Regions from separate parts of the Homo sapiens genome. Here region 1 is linked to region 2. Evidence: promoter capture Hi-C in 16 types of primary human blood cells and fetal thymus (Javierre and others, 2016). All regions are on one chromosome and are shown on one strand. The core of a region is centred on a gene start or on the middle of the fragment in contact, and the rest is flanking DNA. Distances in the headings are between cores, read along the strand shown. Region 1 holds the start of CRYGB (crystallin gamma B). Region 2 holds the start of PIKFYVE (phosphoinositide kinase, FYVE-type zinc finger containing).

The links. Contacts are between HindIII fragments. The CHiCAGO score rates a contact against its expected background, and 5 or more counts as called.
Region 1: the fragment with the promoter of CRYGB here is called in contact with the fragment with the promoter of PIKFYVE in region 2 in 15 of 17 cell types (neutrophils, M1 macrophages, naive CD8 T cells and 12 more); the score reaches 13.5 in neutrophils.

Annotation. Positions count from the first base shown.
Region 1 is chr2:208,144,140-208,148,704 of GRCh38, forward strand. CRYGB (crystallin gamma B) reads right to left here and starts at 2,019. Exons shown (of 3, transcript NM_005210.4): 1 at 1,973-2,019; 2 at 1,635-1,877. The coding sequence starts at 1,981. All of the region lies in intron 2 of LOC100507443 (a long non-coding RNA gene), which reads left to right. RefSeq lists an enhancer at 1,211-1,834. The HindIII fragment of the contact is 1,715 bases long and covers 774-2,488 here.
Region 2 is chr2:208,264,973-208,269,359 of GRCh38, forward strand. PIKFYVE (phosphoinositide kinase, FYVE-type zinc finger containing) reads left to right here and starts at 1,283. Exons shown (of 42, transcript NM_015040.4): 1 at 1,283-1,443. It also overlaps the pseudogene MYL6BP1. RefSeq lists an enhancer at 1,120-1,169 and a silencer at 1,300-1,569. The HindIII fragment of the contact is 8,601 bases long and covers 1-4,387 here.

The DNA.
Region 1 (4,565 bases), core at 769-3,268, 120 kb before region 2:
CCTCCCAAGTAGCTGGGATTACAGGCACGCGCCACCACGCCCAGCTAATTTTGTATTTTTAGTAGAGGTTTCTCCATGTTGGTCAGGCTGGTCTCAAACTCCGGACCTCAGGTGATCTGCCTGCTTTGGCCTCCCAAAAGTGCTGGGATTACAGGCATGAGCCACTGTGCCCAGCCTTGGCAAAATAAACTTTCTAAATTGACTGAGACCTGTCTCAGATATTTGGGGTTCACTATTATATGCGCACGCACACACACACACACATATATGTATTTGTTTCTTGAGACAGGGTCTCCCTCTGTCACCTAGGCTGGAGTGCAATGGCATGATCATGGGTCACAGCCCCCTCAACCTTCTGGGCTCAAGTGACCCTCCCACCTCAGCCTCCTGAGTAGCTGGAACTACAGGCATGCACCACCACATCTGGCTAATTTTCAGTTCAAATTTCTTTTCTTTTTTTTTTTTTTTTGAGACGGAATCTTGCTCTGTCACCCAGACTGGAGTGCAGTGGCATGATCTCAGCTCATTGCAACCTACCCTTCCCGGGTTCAAGCGATTCTCCTGCCTCAGCCTCCCAAGTAGCTGAGACTACAGGCGCGTGCCACCAAGCCCAGCTAATTTTTGTATTTTTAGTAGAGAGGGGGTTTCACCATATTGGCCAGGGTGGTCTTGAACTCCTGACCTCCTGACCTCGGCCTCCCAAAGTGCTGGGATTACAGGCGTGAGCCACCGCACCCAGCCTTCAGTTCAAATTTCAACCTATCTGACTTTTAAGCTTCCTTTCTAGCCTCCTGCTCTCAACTTATTTATTTCCCTCAGCAGCAAGTATCACCTTCATTAACTTCTGTTTTTATGACACTGTATCCCATGCCTCCCACACACCACAATTCTAAGAATTCTGCAGTCACTGCCCAGAAAATATGGAATCTCAAACTTTAGTTTCAGATTTGGCCTTTTCTCTAATTTATACCTCTAAGTGAGCTAATAGGTACTGACCATTAAATTAGAATAGAAATCAGAAGACAGGATCCTATCTTCTCAGGAGGAATAATCAAATAGAAAAGTAAGACAAAGCAAGCAAAAGTTTGTTGTTGTTGTTGTTGTTGTTGTTATTGTCGTTTTGAGATGGAGTCTCACTCTGTCACCAGGCTGGAGTGCAGTGGCACGATCTCGGCTCACTGCAACCTCCATCTCCCGGCTTCAAGCAAGCAATTCTCCTGCCCCAGCCGCCCGAGTAGCTGGGATTTAAGAATAATGTGATTAAATAGGCCGGATGCCGTGGTTCACACCTGTAATCCCAGCACTTTGGGAGGCCGAGGCGGGCGGATCACTTGAGGCCAGGAGTTCGAGATCAGCCTGGGCAACATGGTGCAACCTCGTCTCTACTATGAATACAAAAATTGGCTGGGCATGGTGGTGCATGCCTGTAATCCCAACTACTCAGGAGGCTGAGGCAGGGGAATTGCTTGAACCCGGGAGGCGGAAGTTGCAGTGAGCCGAGATCATGCCACTGCACTCCACCCTGGGGGACAGAGCGAGACTCCGCCTCAAAAAAAAAAAAAAAAAAAAAAAGAATATCATGAAATAGCTTTTATTTCCAAAAAGATGGAAGGCAAAGACAGAGCCACACTCACCGGGGGGATGAGGCAGCAGGAGCGGATGGAGTCGCTGAGGCCCATCCATTGCTGGTAGTCAGGGTACTCCCCACGCCGCAGGAAGTACTGGTGGCCCTGGTAGTTGGGGCGCTCATAGATCATCCAGCAGCCGCTCTCCACCCTGATGGAGTTGCAGCGGCTGAAATAGGGTTGTAGGTTGGGGCAGTCAGTGGTGCATTCGTAGCTGCGGCCCTGGAAGGCCCTGTCCTCGTAGAAGGTGATCTGAAAAATGGAAGATGTGGGAGCATGGAGTGATTGGCCCCCACTGAGGCCACTGCATTAGGGCCAAGGCTGAGCATCCGGTACCCAGGACTTACCTTTCCCATTTTGAAGGAAGTGAGCAGATGTTTTCTGGTTGCTGTGTGGGACTGCGGGAACGTCACTGTATGTATAGCAGCCCTGACTGCTGCCTCCACAGGAAATCACACAAAAGGGCCCATTTTGGTGAGTAAGGGGATTTGCAAGCTCGCTGCTCTCCGTGCCCAGGTCACTGGGGTTGGCTGAATGGTTTACTCTCATTCTTTCTGGTAGGTTCGGGTTGTTCTAATTCACTAAAGCTGTTGTTGCCATCAAAATGAATAGAGTACACTTTTAGTTGAGCAAAAGGATGGGCGAAATTCTGTCTCTGTGCTTTTATTTTATAGTTTACTCTGCTTAATTGACTTCTCAAAAGTCATTAAACTAAGTAATGAATTCTGCTCAGGGACTGGTGGTGTTTTTGTGTGTGTGTGTGTGTGTGTTTTAGTTCTAAAAGCCAGAATTTAAATAGTAAGGAATCTTAAAGAAGAGGGAATCAAGTGAAGTAATCTGTGAAAGTGTGTTAAAACCCATAAAGCTTAGTTCAAATTCAAAATTCTGTGATCAGCCAGGCGAGGTGGTGCACACCTATAATCCCAGGACTTTGGGAGGCTGAGGCAGGTGGATTGCTTGAGCTCAGGAGTTAGAGACCAGCCTAGGTAACATGGTGAGACCCCATCTCTACAACAAATACAAAAATTAGCCCTGCATGGTGGCGCATACCTGTAGTCCCAGCTATTTGGGAGGCTGAGGTGAGAGGATTGCTTAAGCTCAGGAGGTCGAGGTTGCAGTGAGCCATGATTGCACCACTGCACTCCAGCCTGGGCAACAGAGCAAGACCCTGTCGCAAAAAAAAAAAAAAAAAAATTCTGTGATCATCATTGTTGGTGTTTGGGGGCTTGTCTTGAATAAAACTGATACTTGCCTGGAATTTTGTAGGCTTCTGGGGGCTGGGTATTATTTCTTGTTCATGTCTATCCCTGAGCCCTAGAGCAGAGGGTTGGCACATTGCAGGTCCTCAATAATTGGCTCTGACCTGAGCAAAAACAGATAGTTGTGGCTTTCTTCCCCCTTTCAGATCTTCCTAAGGGCCTAAATCCCTCCTTCTGCTGGTGGCTGTCCAGAGTCCTGCCTGCTGTTTGGTGTTCCTGCTCTGCCTCAAATGTTACCACTAAGTGGCTGATTGGTCTTCTCAAGGCATGGGACCAAAAGGGCTCAGAGTTGGTCCCTATTGCTGGCAGATTGGACATTCTACAGTGGAAATAGCTGGATTAGCCTTAATAAGTAGAAGTTAATGCATAGCCTTCATCCATACCACTATGAACGCTCTCTTAGTGAGCTCACTGCCAGCAGTAGGGTGGCTGATGGCAGACGCTGACTGGAATCAAATGACCAAATCATTTTTTCTACTTGGTTGTTTAGTGCCTCTTCAATGGTGGATGCCCTACACTGGGCCTTCACATGGGATACAACTATCTTCGCCCTTTGTGCCCAATCCCATATCTCCCTGCACATTCCTCTACCCCAGACCTTCTTGTCCCTAATCTTCCAATCTTTCTCCTTCCAGGCCCTGGACCAGCCAGCCAAGCCACACATTACTGCTCAATAATTCCATATATGCTTGACCTTGGGCTACTTTTCTTTCTGCACCGAGTGAGCAGCCAGGTGCACTACCTCAAGGTTGCCTTTTGGGAGGATTTCCCTCACTGCTGTCTTTAGGGTGACTCCTGAGTGAGCTATTCTGCAGCAGCATTCTATTTTGGGCTTGTACCCAAATGCCATGCCAATTTATTAGTGTATCAAGCTCAGCCTTCCCCCACTCTATCAGCTGGTCAGAAGGGACCCCTGCAGGCAGTTGTAAGTGTGAGCTGAGAGAGAGCTATTGCAATAATGGTGACTTCATCCCATCCCGCAGGGAAGGCTAGGGCTAGAGTTGTCAGGAACTTAGGCAAGTGGACCGGGAATCTGTGCCTCTGCATTGCCCCGTAATTTGATGTGGGCTGCTGCCATGGAGAAGTGTAACTTTGGGCAAGGCAGCTTCCTCCAGCAGAAGAAAATTCTTGGAGACAAACTCAGCTTTAAGCTGTCAGCATCTGGGAGAAGGAGTGCTTCAGTCCACAGTGGAAGTCCAGGCAGCACCAGAGCGTCCACTACAAGAAGAAAATAAAGCTGAGATAACTGCAGTTAACATTTTGGTGTTTCATCATCCCAGCTTTTTTATATGTCAAACCCATGTGTGGTTGTACAGTGTTATTTATACTGTGTAGCATTCTCTTGTTTTCTTCTAAGTCACCTTTCAAATAAAGTGATTAGTAATACTGATTAAGGTGATCACATTTAGCCTTTTAATACATATATATATATTTTTTTTGTGAAGAGAAACTGAATGAAAAATCGTTCTAGACTCTCTATTGGTTAGCTATACCCATGCTTGAGGTCTAGGCAGTATTCAGGAGAATATCATTCACCCAGTGGACTCACTAAAACAATGTAAACAGTCTTTATGTGCTGAAAGTTCTAACTCTTAAAGAGACTAAATTAACAACCCTGTTTGATGTAAGACCTAACATACTCAGTGTGATGCATAGGTGGGTGTTTGAGGATCATGATGAA
Region 2 (4,387 bases), core at 33-2,532:
AGGCAGAGTCATTGGAAAAGGGGAGGTTGCAGATACGGTGCAAGCTCCCAGACAGGAGAGGGTGAATTGGGGGCCAAAAGGATTGAGCTGGGGAAGAAGAGGCCCCTTCCTCAGAGAGATGAGGGAGAAAGGCAGACCAGGGCAGATGTGGATGTAGGTAAATGTTGTGGTGTGTGGGGAATTAGCTTGTTAAGGGTCACGCCCAGATACCTTGGGATTTTTCACGTGGGTATAAAATATGATTCTCTGATGAGAATGATGGTCAAGGTAATGTGGGGGTCGTGGTGGTGGTCTGACGCAGCAGTAATAAGGAATGGGAGAAGCTGACTACAGACTCCCAGAAAGATTGCTGAAGGGCCCAGCTGAGGATGGTGACTGGGATTTGCACTGGACTCAACCTGCAGGTTTCGATGGTGCTTTCCAACTCCAGGAAAACTGGGCTGGGATTTGACAAAACTCTTGAGGAAAAGGACTCACAGAATTTAAAACTGCATTTCCCTTTAGGTTTCGTCTGCTTTCCATCCTCCCCTACCAAGCCCCACAACTGCGGCGAGCATGTTTTCTGCAGTTAACTGCACTGCGCTCTCAGCAGGACAGAAATGACGAATAACTCTAGCCAAGCTGAACAAGATAGGGCTTGGGCTTGGTAACTTTATTTGCATCAGCATTTGCAACACAACACCTAAATGAAAAAATTAACTATAAAGCCGACATCACTTACTCTGGGTCAGGGAACTGTGCCATTCGCTTTAAGTGCATTTACTTAATCTCAAAAAAGTATTAAGAAGTGAGTCCTTTTATTAATCCGACTTTACACACCAGAGGTCTAAGGCCTAAATAAATGAGCAATTTGCTTAAGATCATATGGCTGGTTATTGGTGGAGTCATGCAAGTCTGGAAACAGAGTCATCGCTAACTCCGGTTCAGTGCTACACGAGTGAACTGTCTACAACAAAGCAATAACATATTATGAGTGCCCACAGTATCGAACACATACGGTAACCGCAGTCCAGCCAGCACCCCTGCAGTGCCCAGAGCACCAAGCACCCATCCGTTGACCCCGCATGCGTGACGCTCACGCGCGCAGTCCCCCTGGCTTCTTCCAGGAAGGCTGAAGCGGCCTAATCTCGGCCAAAAGATCAGGACGACTCGATCTGGGCTGGACTCCTTCTGCCTGAGCATCTGATCCGAGCGTCGGCCGGGCTGGGAGGAGCCGGCCCCCGGGAAAGATTTCGGACTGGGGGACAGGAAAACAGAGGGCGGAGTCTTGGGGGGGGGAAGCGAGAAGCCGCATCAACCATGTAAGCAGCTTCGCTTCCTGCCGCAACCGTCCGCGGCCTGAGGAGCCCACCGCCGCTCTCGGGGGCCGACTTCCGGGGGCTGAGCCGTTGAAGCGGAGGCTGGGGCGGGGGGCAGCCGGCGCGGCCGGGGCAGGAGGCGCAGGTAAGGGAGGGGGCCTGGAGCTTGGCCGGCTGGGGCTCAGCATGGGAAGGAGGCCGGTATGGGGAGCTCCAGGGCCAGAGCTGAGGTGAAAGTGAGAACCAGGGCTCCGCAGTCGGGGGCTAGGGCCTGGCTGCCGGCTGAGCAAGGAAGGGCAGAGAATCTGGCTTTAGAATTAGCTTGTCCTCCCTATTCCCCGGCTGCCTTGTCTGGCGAGTGGGGACGGAAGCCGGGTGGGGCCCTTGAGATTTCCTTGGAAACATTTGAAGTTCCTTTGCCTCTCTCTCGACCCTTACGCCTGAACTTAATTAGGAGGGGAAGAGTACAGTTACTTTTCCCTCTGAGTGCATGAGTTCTGAGTTTGTCAGAGGCGCATCCGTAGGCTGGAAAAGAAAGTTCATGAGCTGCAGAAACGATACCAACCGTGGGGGTTCAAATAAGTGTTTGTCTTTTTAAATGCTTGCCTCTGCTATTTGAGACGATTCCATTTCAACTTAGGTTTTGGAGTTTCTTGAGGAGGAGCATTATTTCCCAATTAGTGTTTACCCTTTGCTTAGAATGTTCCCAACAAAAGGATGAGAATGGAATGTGTTGGAAACTTTTAGGACTTAGGGGTTTTCTGCCCAATCAGAGGTTATTCCTAAGACAGTCAAGAAATATAAGAAGTGCTAGAATTCTGTATAAAGCAAGTTATTCGTGTGTATCTGATGTGTATACATGATTCATTATCTACTATTGACGCAGTGCATCCTGTGTTGTAAAATATGTCCAGTGTTGACAATAGAGGTAGTCGCTTGGTATAATGTACTTATTTCTGATTTATTTGAGCCCCTTTTTTGGCACTCCAAAACTCCCACTCTGTCAGTTTTCTTACAAAAAATGTTCTTTCTTTTGTGTTTGTGACAAAGATTGTGTAGGTTAAATCTCTTCTGTGGAGCAAGGCTAATTTCCTGTGTTCTCCCTTTTTCTGCTTTCTGGATCCTGCTCTGGTTTTCCTTTAAGCGTGTTGGTCAAAAATTGAACAAGAAATCTTTGTTGATAGAAGCTAACATTTCCAATATTCAGCTTTCCTAAATTATTACATTGCCAGTTTTTTTTTTTTTTTTTTTTGAGAGACAGAGTCTCGCTCTGTCCCCCAGGTTGGAGTGCAGTGGCGCGATCTCCTCCGACTGCAACCTCCGCCTCCCAGGGTTCAGGCGATTCTCCTGCCTCAGCCTCCTGAGTAGCTAGATTGCAGGCGCGCGACACCACACTCGGCTAATTTTTGTATTTTTAGGGGAGACGGGGTTTCACCATGTTAGCGAAGCTGGTTTTGAATTCCTGACCTCAGGCGATTCACCCGCCTCGGCCTCCCAAGGTGCTGGGATTACAGGCGTGAGCCACCGGGCGGGGGTCTCCCTCCCTCGCCCAGGCTGGAGTGAAGTGGTGTGATCTCGGCTTACTGCAGTCTCCGCCTCCCAGGCTCAAGGGATTCTCCTGCCTCGGCCTCCCAAAGTGCTGGGATCACAGGTGTGAGCAGCCACGTCCGGCCTTTACTGACTGGCTTCTGATAGTTTGTAGTAGGTCTGCATATATTAGTAGCCTTAATTAGAAATGGTGAAGTATTGGTGATATATCAGAAGGCTTTGGGTAGGTAGGTTAATAGGACTGATTACCACTCAGGAAAGAGTCCTAATTTATATTTTAAAGCGTTGTTAAGCTGCTAAAGAGTGAGAGTTATAAGATAATTTTTTCAGGGCCCTAGTGTCATTATGTAATTATTAGGGTTAACTATATGATTGGGTTTATATTTCAGAGACTACACTTGCTAAGTGTTTTCATGGGAATTTTTATCTTCTTATTTCCAAAGCCGAGTATAATTTTTGTGTAGATAACCTTTAGAAGTAATTCTAAGACTCTTTAGGCAGAATGTCATCTCTGCCTCTGACATTACTTGTGTCAAAGTAGAATGTAGGCTGTTTTCCAGGGGTGGTTGTTACGGCCATCACATTATCGTTTCTCTCCAGAGCTCTTTTTTTTTTTTTTTTTTTTTTCCCTAAATAAAATAGAGATGAAGTCTCGCTATGTTGACTAGGCTGGTCTGGAACTCCTGGCCTCAAGCGATCCTCCCGTCTCAGCCTCCTAAAGTGCTGGGATTACAGACATGAGGCCACAGTGCCTGGCCTCTTTTTTTTTTTAATATAAAAAAAACACAAACTTTTTTTTGAGTGTATACTTATTCAGTTATCAGCTTACTTCCCAACACTTTTTGCTGAATTGTCATGACACTTCAGAAGGATTGTTGATGATTATTCTCAGTGGAAGATATTAGAAACCTTCCTTCCCCTTCTTCTTCCTTTTCTCCTTCCTCTTTCCTTCCCCTTCCTCTTCCTCTTTTTCTTCCCCCCCCAATAAACATGTATTGCCAAAATTCTGTTTAAGTCAGTGGTTTCATTTCTGCCTTAATTTATTAATTAAATTATTGATCAGACAAAGCCTTAAGTAGTTAGAGAACGCGGATAGGCTAAAAGGGAAGTGTGAAGAGCTACAAAAGTAATTTTGATTTAGGTAATACTTTTGGGGTGAGACTTGGGGTATAGTGACAGTTCTACTAATGTCTGTGTGACCCCCAAGAAAGTTGTTTTAGGTTCAGAGTACCTTGGTTGCCTCAAAGGTAAAATGTCATAAAGCCAGCTGTGTGTGCCTTCCAGGATTGTAAGAGTAAAATGAGATGGTAGCTATGATTTTGAATGTGAAAAGCATTTTACCGAGACTGTAATGTCCTCTTTGTAAAGTGGAGACTAGATTATAAACTATAGTATATATATTGTTTTCTCCAAGGGAGGAACCTTGTCTTTATTTTGAAACAGTAGGTAGCCTCCTGGTGGCTGGAACATGCTTCTGCCTGCAGGGGGCCCATTGTCTGGGCCCTAGGGATCTACAGAGCTCAGTAGGCTTAGGAAGTGTT